3 separate regions of the Homo sapiens genome follow, and regions 1 and 2 are each linked to region 3. Evidence: promoter capture Hi-C in 16 types of primary human blood cells and fetal thymus (Javierre and others, 2016). All regions are on one chromosome and are shown on one strand. Each heading gives the region's core, a stretch centred on a gene start or on the middle of the fragment in contact. The rest is flanking DNA. Distances are from core to core; before and after follow the strand shown.

What was found. Contacts are between HindIII fragments. The CHiCAGO score rates a contact against its expected background, and 5 or more counts as called.
Region 1: a contact is called between a fragment that was not itself captured here and the fragment with the promoter of ADAM7-AS2 in region 3, in 1 of 17 cell types (megakaryocytes). The highest score is 5.4, in megakaryocytes.
Region 2: a fragment that was not itself captured here is called in contact with the fragment with the promoter of ADAM7-AS2 in region 3 in 1 of 17 cell types (total B cells); the score reaches 5.9 in total B cells.

The regions. Positions count from the first base shown.
Region 1 is chr8:25,042,830-25,047,210 of GRCh38, forward strand. No RefSeq gene overlaps it. Among named protein-coding and RNA genes, the nearest start is that of NEFL, 88 kb to the left of the region's middle. The HindIII fragment of the contact is 5,359 bases long and covers 294-4,381 here.
Region 2 is chr8:23,839,512-23,843,453 of GRCh38, forward strand. It overlaps STC1 (stanniocalcin 1), which reads right to left. Exons shown (of 4, transcript NM_003155.3): 4 at 2,418-3,942. Among named protein-coding and RNA genes, the nearest start is that of STC1, 13 kb to the right of the region's middle. The HindIII fragment of the contact is 603 bases long and covers 2,191-2,793 here.
Region 3 is chr8:24,512,777-24,517,066 of GRCh38, forward strand. ADAM7-AS2 (ADAM7 antisense RNA 2) reads right to left here and starts at 2,092. Exons shown (of 5, transcript NR_125809.1): 1 at 2,010-2,092; 2 at 1,799-1,888. The region is part of intron 1 of ADAM7-AS1 (ADAM7, ADAMDEC1 and ADAM28 antisense RNA 1); the gene reads right to left. The HindIII fragment of the contact is 1,717 bases long and covers 726-2,442 here.

The DNA of each region.
Region 1 (4,381 bases), core at 1,723-4,222, 530 kb after region 3:
TTACTCACTCTGGGACTAGCCAGAATATATAGAATAGTCCTGAGCACACAGCATTCAGGCAACACCAAGAATGAGCTTTTTAATTAGTCAAACAAGCTACAAGTTCATTTCCATGACACTGTGTAAGTTCAGTCATTATCAATTTTGTGTGAAGCATTTGCAAATCTGCATGAAATCTGATCACTGCTCTCATGGAGCTCTCAGCACAGTATGGAGACAGCGGTATACATGCTTACATTCCTCTGCTCAGGCTGCCATATAAACGCAATAGATGGGATGGCTTAAACAACAAAAGCTTATTTTCTCACAGTTTCAGAGGCTAGAAGTCCAAGATGAAGGTATGGGCAGGGTCAGTTTCTTCTGAGGATTTTCCCCTTGGCCTGCAGATGGTTACCTTCACTCTGTGTCTTAACAGGGTCTTTTCTCTGTACACACACATCCCTAGTGTCTCTCTGGGTGTCCAAATTTCCTCTTCTTATAAGAATAGTCAGAATTAATTGGGGCCCACTCTAAAGACCTAATTTTAACTTAATCACCATTGTAAAGTCCCTATCTCCAAATATAGTCACATTCTGAGGTATACTGGGGATAATACTTCAGCATGTGGATTTAGAGGGAAATAATTCAGCCCATAAGAAAGTTGATATTGCAATGTGAGTGATTAAACAATAAGGTGAGAACATTTAGCAACACATAGACTTTGTTGGATAAAGGACAGCGTGATTTTGGAAGACACAAAGCTCTTGAAGGCAAAGTAGTAACACCAGTGTTACTGCATTTTTCACTTACTCTCTAAAATCCATTGGGTACTAAGTAGAACCCAGATTGGCAGTACCACTTGTTCTGGTTTCAGAAATAGTATTCTTCTCTTAAAAAATAAAGAGAAAAGGCCAGATACGGTGGCTGACGCCTGTAATCCCAGCACTTTGGGAGGCCGAGGTGGGCAGATCACAAGGTCAGGAAATCAAGACCATCCTGGCTCATGTGGTGAAACCCCGTCTCTACTAAAAATACAAACAATTAGCCAGGTGTGGTGGCAGATGCCTGTAGTCCCAGCTACTCAGGAGGCTGAGGCAGGAGAATGGCGTGAACCCAGGAGGCGGAGCTTTCAGTGAGCCAAGATCACGCCACTGCACTCCAGCCTGGGCAACAGAATGAGACTCCATCTCAAAAAAATAAATAAATAAAAATTTAAAAAAAGAGAGAAAAAATGATCTGGTGTTTAATATGTCACTTCAAGGAAGAGAGCCAGAGTTTAAGTTACCTTTTCATTAAGATTTATACTGTCTCTTCGATGTTTCAATGCAAAAATCATTTGGCTTGCTCTGTCCTTAACACACAGATACTAAAATTCTGCTCCCTAAAATTGCACCTGGAAGTGACTGAAGACATATTTTGATCCCAAAAATTTATTTATGGGAGTCCATTCTAGGAATTGTTTAGAGGTGGAAGGAAATAAAATATTAAGCATCCCTCACTGCCCAAATTAGAGTGCAGAAAACTGAGCACAATATTGAATGGATTCAATAAACAGAACCAATCAATCAGCCAAACTTCGATTTATTCACCCAACAATTTATTCAGTCAAATGAGTGTTTGTTAAATTAAGGAGTAGTAAATCAATGAAAGATTTATTGAACACATATTATTTTCTAAAACTATGCTGAGCTCCATGGGGAGTGCGAGAACTAGATGAAAGGACCCCTCCCACAAGGAATTTATAATTAAAATGAGAGATAAAACTACCAAACATAAGCGAGAGAATAATTAGTGATTAATTGCACAGTACCAACAATAAATAGAGTGGGAATAATCAGTAAAGTTTTCACAGGAGAAGCGACATGTGAACAAAACCTTAGATGATGATTAGAATTTGACTAGGTGGACAACAGTGAAGGGACACTCTAGGTGCAAGTGATGTCATTACACAACATGGAGGTAGAACTGAGCATGGAGAGTGAGTGGAGCAGTGAGGCCACTTGACTAAGTCAGATGATGCAAGTTGAGGGAGAGTGGTAAATAAGGTTGGAAAGGTTGACAACATTGACAACATTGTCAACATTGTCCAATAATGTTGGAAATGGTCTTAAACAGCAGAGTGTGACACTTTGGCATGAAATAATAAAGCAATAATACATACAGATCTCCTAAATGTCCTTTGCTGGGGAATAGACATGGTGTAACATGTGTGTCTCAGTCTATAACAGAATACCTGAGAAACGGTACTTTATAATGAAGAGAAATTTGTTGTCTCACAGTTTTGGAGGCTGGGAAGTCCAAGATTAAGGTACCAGCACCTGGGGAGAGCCTTTCTGCTGCATCATTATGTGGGAGAAGGTGGAAGAGGAGGCACTCAGCAGAGCAAACCCACTTCTATAAGCCTCTTTCATAATGGCACTAATCCACTCATAAGGGCAGCACCTTATGACCTAAGCATCCCCATTAGGTCTCACCTCCCACTACTGTTGCACTGGGGATTAAGTTTCCAACACATGGATTCTGGGGGACATGTTGAAATCATAGCAATGTGTTTAGGTAGATGAGAGAAAAAGAGGCAACAATCTGCTAGGGCAGCATGAAAGTTACAGCAATTTGGGCAAGTGGTCAGAAGGCCTGAAAATCAACAAATGGAAATGGGTTGGGGAAGCTGTGGATACAAGAAATTGTGAAGGAAATGTAGGCTTATGTCATAGGATGTTTTACATCATTAAATCTGAGTAACTTGCAAAATGATGATGCCACTAACAGTGGAAAGGAAGAGACTGGATCTTTTTGGGAGAAGAAGGTAATGAGTACAGTCATATTGGATTGGGGTGCCTTGAACATTGCAAGTGAAACAACCCACAGACTCTTAAAGATAAAAATGAAGGTTTGGATAGGAAAACTGACTTGGAGATACAGGAGTGTCTAAAGGTGGGTATTCAATATGTTGCTCTGTGATGGAATAGAATGTATCTACACATTTGAAACACAACTTATACATTTTAGGGTCAATAGAGTAGCAATGACAACTGAAGTCATGAGAATGAAACAAGCATCCTCAGACCAAGAAGGAAGAGCAAAGAATCAGTTCAGGGGACTGAGGGAACAGTCAGAATAATAGTGGGAAAACTGAAAGAGTGAAATGTAATGAGAGCCAAAGGAGGATAGAGTTTCACAGAGACAGGGAGTAGCGAGAGGTGTGTAAGGGCTGTGGGAAAGGAGGAAGAATCAATAGTGTCAGATTCAGCCAAAATTCAAGATAATTAAGAGTTAAGAATAGATTGATTTATAAAGCACCACTGGTGTCCTCCAGAAGAGCTGCTATAATACGGTGTCAGAACTGGGACCCAGATGTCAAGGGTTAAAAGTGAAGAATGAGACAGGAAGAGAGATAGGCATACCCTTCAGCATAAACCATGTCAATCAAGTGTAGATTTGAGAATGGGAGCTCAGAGACCCAATGCTATGGTCTGAATGTTTGTGTGGCCCCAAAATTCGTATGTTGAAACCTAATCCCCAATGTAATAGTATTAAGAGGTGGGGCCTTATGCACTGATGAGGTCACGAGGGTGGAGCCCTCATGAATGGGATTAGTGCCCTTAAAAAAGAGGCTTGAGGGCCAGGCGCGGTGGCTCATGCCTGTAATCCCATCACTTTGGGAGGCTGAGGTGGGTGGATCACGAGGTCAGGAGATCGAGACCATCCTGGCTAATATGGTGAAACCCCGTCTCTACTAAAAAATACAAAAAAATTAGCTGGGCATGGTGGCAGGCACCTGTAGTCCCAGCTACTCAGGAGGCTGAGGCAGGAGAATGGCCTGAACCCAGGAGGCAGAGCTTACAGTGAGCTGAGATCGCGCCACTGCACTCCACTACAGCCTGGGCAACAGAGCGAGACTCCGTCTCAAAAAAAAAAAAAAAAAAAAAAAAATGGAGGCTTGAGGGAGTGTGTTCACCTCTTGAACCATGTGAAGACACAACAAGAAGGTGCTGTCTGTGAGGAACAGGCCTTCATCAGACGCCAAATCGGCTGGCACTTTGATCTTAGACTGCTCAGCCTTTAGAACTGCAAACAAAAAATTTTTTTTTTTGAGACAAGGTCTCACACTGTCAGAAAGGCTGGAGTGCAGTGATGCCATCATGGCTCACCGCAGCCTCGACTTCCTGAGCTCAAGCAATCCTCCCACCTCAGCCTCCTGAGTAGCTGGAACTACAGGCATGGGCCATGATGCCTGGCTAACTTTTGTATTTTTTGTAGAGATGGGTTTTGCTTGTTGCCCAGGCTGGTCTCGAACTCCTGGACTCAAGTGATCCTCCTGCCTTGGCCTCCCAAAGTGCAAGAATTACAGGTGCAAGCCACCACACCTGGCCAAGAAATAAACTTTTGTTATTTGCAAATG
Region 2 (3,942 bases), core at 1,242-3,741, 670 kb before region 3:
AGTGGAAGCCACAGATCCCTTAGTCCTGAGGGGGAGCAGAGATGTATTTAATTGGCAGATAAGGATTGGAATCAGTGAGTTCTCAGCTTAGTATGCTGTGGGTCATACAGGCATAGTGTTGAGAAGCATACTGGTACTTAGTTGACACTTATTTAATAATCAGGCTTTAATTAGTTATTTATAAATGGAGCGATGTGCATTGCTCTTTAGATTTTACAGTAGGGTGGTAGGATAGGCTTAAGCAGTGTCTCACCTAGGTTCTCAAGTTCTTCTTTGAGGTAAAAAAAATCAAATCAAAGGGTCATGAGGATTGCAGTTTGTGGTAGAGCTTGAGCATAGGGAAGAAGAATTAGTGAGCAGAGGGGTATTAGAAGAATGACTATGTGACAAAATAGCTAAGGATACAGGAAATATGATGGAGCTTGACTTGCAGGTGGATATAGTCTCTCTGTGTTCTAGCTCTCTAACACAATGCTTTGCATAGGTCAGGCTAATATCTAACCATGTTTGTTGGTGAGTCTTTTGTTGCTCAGATTAGCAGTTTTCTCTACTAAAACTACAAAAATTAGCTGGGCATAGTGGTGGGCACCTGTAATTCCAGCTACTCCAGAGGCTGAGGCAGGAGAATCGCTTGAACCCGGGAGGCGGAGGTTGCAGTGAGCTGAGATCTCACCACTGCACTCTAGCCTGGGTGACAGAGTGAGACTCTGTCTCAAACAAACAAACAAAAAAACAGATTTATAAAATCTTAATTAAATAATAATGTTTGGTGACCTACAAAAGGAAAAAGTCAGAAAAACATTCTTCATCCAAAATGGTACCTCAATACTCACAGTGAGGGTGAGAGTAGAATCTAAGTGATGGGAATAACTTTAATGTAAATGGTGAGAGTTACATGTATTGAGGGCTCGAGGAATTCTATTCTTTGGGTACTTGCTATATGGTAGACACTATTTTAAGTCCTTTATATGTAACACATTGAATTCTCAGTTACTTTTGGAACTAAGGCCTACTATTTGTCCCTATTTTGTAGGGGCATTTTCATAAATGAAAAAAACTAAAGTGTGAAGATATGAGACACTTGGCCCAAGGCCACAGAAATGGTAGAGGAACTAAGGTTTAAACTCAGTTTATACAAATCCCAGGTCTGTTTTTTTTTTTTTAAACACTATACTACAGTGCAGCATGCAGTCTCTCTGTATAAATAAATATTTATAGGAGACTATGGATGAAGGATAATAATAAAAGAAATGTGCTCTTTTTCCTTGGCCAGGTCAGAGTAAAGCAAGTGCAGTACGTATTTGGCCCTTAAGTGACAATTCATGTACTATTTATTAGTTGCTTTGGGCATAACTGAACTTGGGAAAATGCAATTTGGAGCTAGAAATGAATGATGTTGAGAAAAATGCCCCCATTTGAATTTAAAATATGGGAAAAATTCACTAATATTTAATTGTGAAGATAACCTTCACAATTAAAGGTGTCTCTTATATAAGGTGTCTCTTGAAAAAAATTATACCACCGAAGCTCCCCTTTTTATGTGACCAAACTCATAAGCATCCTTCAAGACCCAGCTGTCATTCTGTTGTGAAGTCTTTGACCATTTTCTGAGATAGGGAGCTTTTGCTCTCATTGTCGCAACTTGTATGATAACAGCTGACCCTCGTTGAGCATAATCGTATATTGGGAATATTGTAAGCAGTTCACTTGTTTTATTTCCCTGTAGCAGCTCTGTGAGATGACTGTCACAATCCCCATTTTACGGAGGGAGAAATTGATGTGTTTTGAGATTAAGAAACTCTTCTGACATCATGTGGTTAATGAGTGACAGAGACTGAATTCAAATCTTTTGTTTTAACTGCAGAGCTATCTGCCTTCCTTGTCACACTGATTCAGTTGTCTTTTTCCCCCTCCTCCAACTCTTTCTAAATCATTCATTTAAAGTATTGAAGATGCTATTTTAGCGTTGGGAACACACTGGTGACCAAGCACGCGCTTCTCCCCATCATGCTTTCAGTCTGAGTGAAGGATGGAGAAAAAAAATCTTCCAAAAAGAGACAATAGCATAAATAAAAGACCTGGAAGGGACAGATCCCAATCATTCCCAGAACTGCCTATGTGGTGGGAGCGTAGAGGTCACTGAACAGAAAGAAAGTTGGGTCTTACAGTTGAGCAGCCTGTAGACCTTAAAGCTTCTTCCAACTTTGTAAGGAGTTTGGGATACCATCAGTGAGAATAATGGGAGTCACTCAATGTTTTTTAAAAAACTTAGGAAATGTTGACTTAAACAATATGTCAAATTTACATATTGACAATTAGTGACTTTAAAGAAACCAACCAGTCTGTGGTTCATGTTCAGAAATTCTCATTCAATAAGTTTTTCAAGAATAACAATGAAAGACATGGGGGGAAACCAATAAAACGTAACACTTTATTATTATTTTTATCTTAGAAGGAATTCACCAAAGGCTTCATATTATGCTATGGCATCTTTAATTATAAAAATAAGCAAATAAAATAACTTGCATCTGTCATTACCATGATATGTTTCATAACCTTTATATGCACATGGAGCTTAAAAATGTAATTTAACAATAAATAATGACATATACCAGATATGCTCACTGTTTATTCCAGTACTCAGCCAAAAACCTAAATATCATTTAAATTATAAATACATAATGCAAATATAATGGCACAAAAATGTCTAAAGTGCAACCAAATCACAAGAGAAGAATCATGCAAACTGGTCTAGGTCAGCCCCCGAATCACTCTGCAGCAAACACAAGACGAAGCTTTGGAAGTTTAAGGGGGAATTGGAGGGAGTAGGGTGGGGGAAAGAGAAGCAAAAAACTAGCAACATTGTGAGAACTGCTTCTTTCTGTATGTGTAGATATATGTATTGTAGATACATATATAGATATCATCGTGGGGAGAAAAGGGGGGGTACCACGGTTTGAAGAGGTCACAGCCAAAAAAAAAAAAAAAAAAAAAGAAAAGAAAAAAGGAAATCTACTGAACTGAAGAAAGAGAGAAATTTGCTAGGAATACTCATGAACTACTTGTCGCATTGGGGTCCTGGCTTAGTTGGGTTTGCAAAATGGACACAACACACAAACTTTAATAGCTTTTCTGATTCAGAGAAGTCAGCCTTGCCTGGGGGTGGGAAGTGTGGGAGGGAGGGGAAGAGTCTAACTTAGAATATGGTCTACCTGATTTCCAAGAGGCTAAGGCAGTGTCCATAAGTTTGGGGACCTGGGGATGGGACAGTTCTGAGTATAAAAATGCCCTTAACAATCTGATGTCAGCACGCTTAGAGGCTGTGTGGGGACAAAGGCAGCAATGTTTGTGCTGCTGCTGCTGCTGCTGGGTCTGCTGCAATTGCTCTTGGTCCTTGAGCAGCACGTTACTGGTTTTAAAGGCTTTATGGTAAAGTTGTATTGCTTTTCATTTTTCTGGAGATGTGCCCTCTCTCCTCCCACCAGGATCCCTATCACTCGATTTGGTCAAATCTTGAGTTTAGCCTAGTGAGAGTCAAGCACCAATAGTTTCTACCTAAGCGAGTTTGGAGTGGCCCCTGCAGTCCTACCCCTCCTCCCTCTCTTCCTCTCTTGACATTGACCTTTGGTGGGCAGTGACGCTCATAAGGGACTGTTGGGTTCAAGGACAGTGACCCTGAGAAACTACTGTTGTTCATAGATAGGTTAGTCGTTTGACTTTGGTGGTCGCCATCTTGTAAACATCATGGCAGAAATGATCAAACCACCAGCTCTTTTTCCCTCTTTCTTTCTTTTTTTTTTCTTTTTTTCTATTTTTTTACGATCCTACAGAGATGGTCCAGCTGCCAGGACTACTTTGGCAGGCAGCGTGCTACAGGACGAAAATGTAAGAGAAGTCTATTAAGGCTGGACAGCCCAGGGTTATTTATACTCTCTCAGCCCC
Region 3 (4,290 bases), core at 842-3,341:
TTATTCTAAGCACTTCATACGTATTATTTCATTTAACTTAAAACAATGAGTTAAATACTATTACTATTTTCATTTTACAGCTTGGAAAACTGATATGAAAAAAGTCAAATAATTTGCCAAAAGAGACAACTGATTAACTAGTATAGTCACAATTCTAAGCCAGGAAGTCTAACTCCAAAGAGTATGCTTTTAATCATTATTATGCTACTGATATTAATACAACTTTGACAGGAAGAATGCACAGCCCTCACCCCCAAAATTCAGAACTGTGTAAATATCTCACTCCCATTCTCGTCTTCCATCTACCATCCACCATACTTCCCAACCACAGTATAATGGTGCGTGAGTTAACATATCAGGTAGGAAGCGCAAAGCTAGGCAGCTGTCACCTCCCAATTCAGCCAGAGCATGGCTGAGATGTTTTTGTCCAAGGAAGAACTGTATTTGGGGATGGACTAAAACTTAAACACTCTTTGAAGCCCTCATTGGCCACTTCCTAGCAGACACTTTGGGATCCTTGAATCTTTCCCTTGTGTTATAGTGACCTCAATTTCTGGATGATCCCTTCTTAATAGAATAGACCTCTACTTGGGTGGTGCTTTAATTCAGCTTAGTGTGTTTGGGCAAGCTGTCTGTTGCTGTCTCTGCCATCACTGTGCATAAAAGGGAAGACGGTGGGTCAGGGGATGGCAGCGGCCAATCAAGAGATAACAGCCCTCTGCTAAAGCTTCCTTCCTTGCTTTAATCAAATGAAGAATGCACCAGATGAGGGTCACTTGGAACACATAGGGAAAGGTAGAATGCCTACAAAGAATCTTCCAGACCCCATACTACTGCATTTCCATGAAATGCACAAGGTCCATGGGAAGGATTATTTTACAAATGAGGAGGCTAGGGATTAAGAGGTCCTCAAACACACAGCCAAGAAATGGCAAAACAGGAATCACAGGCCTCAGACCAAAGCCACCATCCGAACAGTAACTCATTCCAGTTTTAAAAGTGACAGCATCACAACTGGCCACTGGATGACCTCAGAGTTCAATCCTGCTAAAAGTAGCTTTGGATTGAGACCATCCTGGCCAACAAAGTGAAATCCCGTCTCTACTAAAATACAAAAAATTAGCCAGGCATGGTGGCATGCACCTGTAGTCCCAGCTGCTCGGGAGGCTGAGGCAGGGGAATCCCTTGAATCCAGGAGGCAGAGGTTGCAGTGAGCTGAGACTGCACCACTGCACTCCAGCCTGGCGACAGGGCCAGACTTTGTCTCAAAAAAAAAAAAAAAGTAGCTTTGATGTTGAAAGGGGCTGGGTAGTAGAGATCAGTTAGTGGGCCCTCCCCAATCCTAGCCAAAAGGAGCACAGTATCCATTTCATTTTCACATCTTCAGGTTCTTCAAAGTCATGCCTAAAGTGGGGAAAGAATTAAAAGATCTACTGTCATTCTAACAGGATTCAAAGAGAGGAACCACTGGATGGAAAAATGTGAATTATTTTAGACAAAGCCTTTAGCATTTAAAATACTCCTCATCCCATAATTAATCTATTCCTTTCTCTCACGTTATCAGCATCAGTGCCTTGATATCAAAGTGTATGTCAATAAGTCACAGAAGGGAAGATAATAGTTGGAGTGACCTTCTGAGCTTCTAGGTTGTTCTACCCTCTCCCTTAAAGTCCTGGCTCAGGGGTGTGCCTCCTCAGGTCCACCAGGGAAAGCAGCTGTAGAGTAATCTGATCCTCTCCAAAATGTCCGTGACGCTGTCTCTGAAGAAGGACATTTCCCAAGTTTAAGCTATCATTACCTACTGCAGTCTTCTGTCTGGCTGAAGGAAGGAAGAAATAATCTCCTAAAGTGGCACATTGTGCAAATCTGATGCGTCAATCTTGAAGCACTGCCAAGCAATTCAGAAGAGAAATAAATCAATTCATTCCATCTCCTTAATGCTGCCGTGTCTAACAGGTTTCTATGCTGAAAATATCACCAGCTGGACACTGTGACACTTAATATTGCACCTTCAGAAATGAATTATCAGGCACAAGCCCAGTCTGATGTCATTCTCCTTCCCTGGTTCACTTGAATCTTCAAGAGAAAGAACACTCAGGCTCAGAAGGAACAATGATAAAATGGTAGAACAACATGACATCACCTCCGCATCACAAAACAGGCAAAGTTATAATCCTCTTCACTAGGATCCCTCTGTGACTCCTCTAAACAGAAACAATAACAAAAAAGCAGAGGCAGAGATTAAGCACACTTACAGATTTCAGAGGGGAAAAAACTTAGAAAAGTAAAAAACGAATGTGGACTGATGCCATGTAGGTTCTATTTACTTATCCATTAACGTCTTTGTTCAACATGTACTCATCGCATACTGGCTGTGTTAGAGGTATTATTCTAGGGACATGTAGATATGTAGGTGTACACAGCCCTGCCCTGAGAAAACCAAGCTTTGTGAGCAAGCAAAACAGGCTTCTAAATGGATGGTCATAAATTATGTGATGTCTGTATCAAAACATCTCATGTATCCTCTGAATATATATACCTACTCTGTACCCACAACAATTAAAAATTAAAAGTTTAAAAATAAAATACATTGCCACATATACATGAAAAATGAAATTCTGGAAAAAAATTAGAAAAATAAATTAATGTGATACATGGCACCAAAGAGGAAGGCAGTAGGTGAAATTGCCCAGGGGAATGAAGAGGAGGCTTCTAATGCTTGTTGGAATGGAGAAGGCGTCAGAGAGGTAACTTTTAATCAAGGTCTTAACAAAGGTACAAGGGTTTGCCAAGCAGAGAATTAACATTCCAGGGAGAAGCAGCGAGTCTAAGCATACCTGAGTTTGGTAGGTCTGATCACAGAAAGTAGGTTAGTGTAGTTATATCATGAGGTATATAGGAAAGCATGGTATGAGAGGACATTAAAGACAGGCTGCATTGGATATTCTATGCTGTGGTTATCTGTTGTTGTTTGAGACAAGGTCTTGCTACATGGCCCAGGCTGAAGAGCAGGGGCATGATCTCGGCTCACTGCAACATCTGCCTCCTGGGTTCAAGTAATTCTCTTGCCTCAGCCTCCTGAGTAGCTGGGACTACAGACGTGTGCCACCATGCCCAGGTAATTTTTTAATTTTTTGTAGAGACAGAGTTTCACAATGTTGGCCAGGCTAGTCTCAAACTCCTGGCCTCAAGTAATCTGCCTGCCTCAGCCTCCCAAAGTGCTGGGATTACAGGCATGAGCCACTGTGCCTGGCATGGTGTGGATATCTTAAAGGCAAATGACTTGGTAAAATAACTTAAATGAAAGTAACAAGGTAAAATTTGTGTTTTAGGGGGGAGAACTGCATGATTTTGAAGGTTGGATAAAAGAAGGCTACTGTACTGTCCAAGTTAGAAGATATGAAACCTCAGAGAGACTGGAGTAGTAGAAACATAGATTAAAGGAGGGCTATAAGAAGTTCTTTTTTGATTGGATAAGGGAACAGGGATGAGGTCAAGGGCAGAGTTGATGCTGTCTTCCATGTTTCTGATTTGTGTAGATGAAGTTTTATGGGTTCCTTAACCAAGAAAAGAAAGTAAGAGAGAAGCAGGTTAGATTGGAGATGACAATGGAGCTTAAGTTTGATGCATTTTTAACTTTCTTATGTAAATAAATATAGTGAATTAATATAACAATAAAAGTATACTGGTAAGTTTATGTAATCAAATTGGGGTAACTGAGATACCTATCATCTTAAATATTGTCTTTTTTTAATGCGAGGAACACTCAAGTTATTTTTTTCCAGCTACTTTGAAATGTACAATTGATGAATGTTAAGTGTAGACACCCTACTAATGTATCCTGAAAATATGTACACGTATATCAACCAAAAAATCTAAAAAAACAAGTATACTAAGAAATACTCAGATAAGTTTTCCTAAAAAAATTACTTAAAAATACGCATTCAATTTTACTCAGTTATTGTGTTAACAGTTGACTATCTAGAACTTTGGACTAGGAGCAGAGGGTATATAGTACAGTGTAGGTTTATCAAATATTGTTTTAGATTTAAAAGAAACGTGTTCCTTTTATAGGTTTTGAAAACAAAGCCCAATGAAGTTAAACAGCTAGTGGAAAATAAACAAGATGTGGATAATTGTGTAAACAGGACCCAACTCTCCTAGCTTCTTATGTAGTACATGGTCCCTGCTCATCTGCAGACTCATTGGTGAGATAAAGACTATTAGGCTATTCCAAAAATTCTCTACAAACCCCAAAGACTTTATGGCTCTCCTGAATAAGCCCCTCTG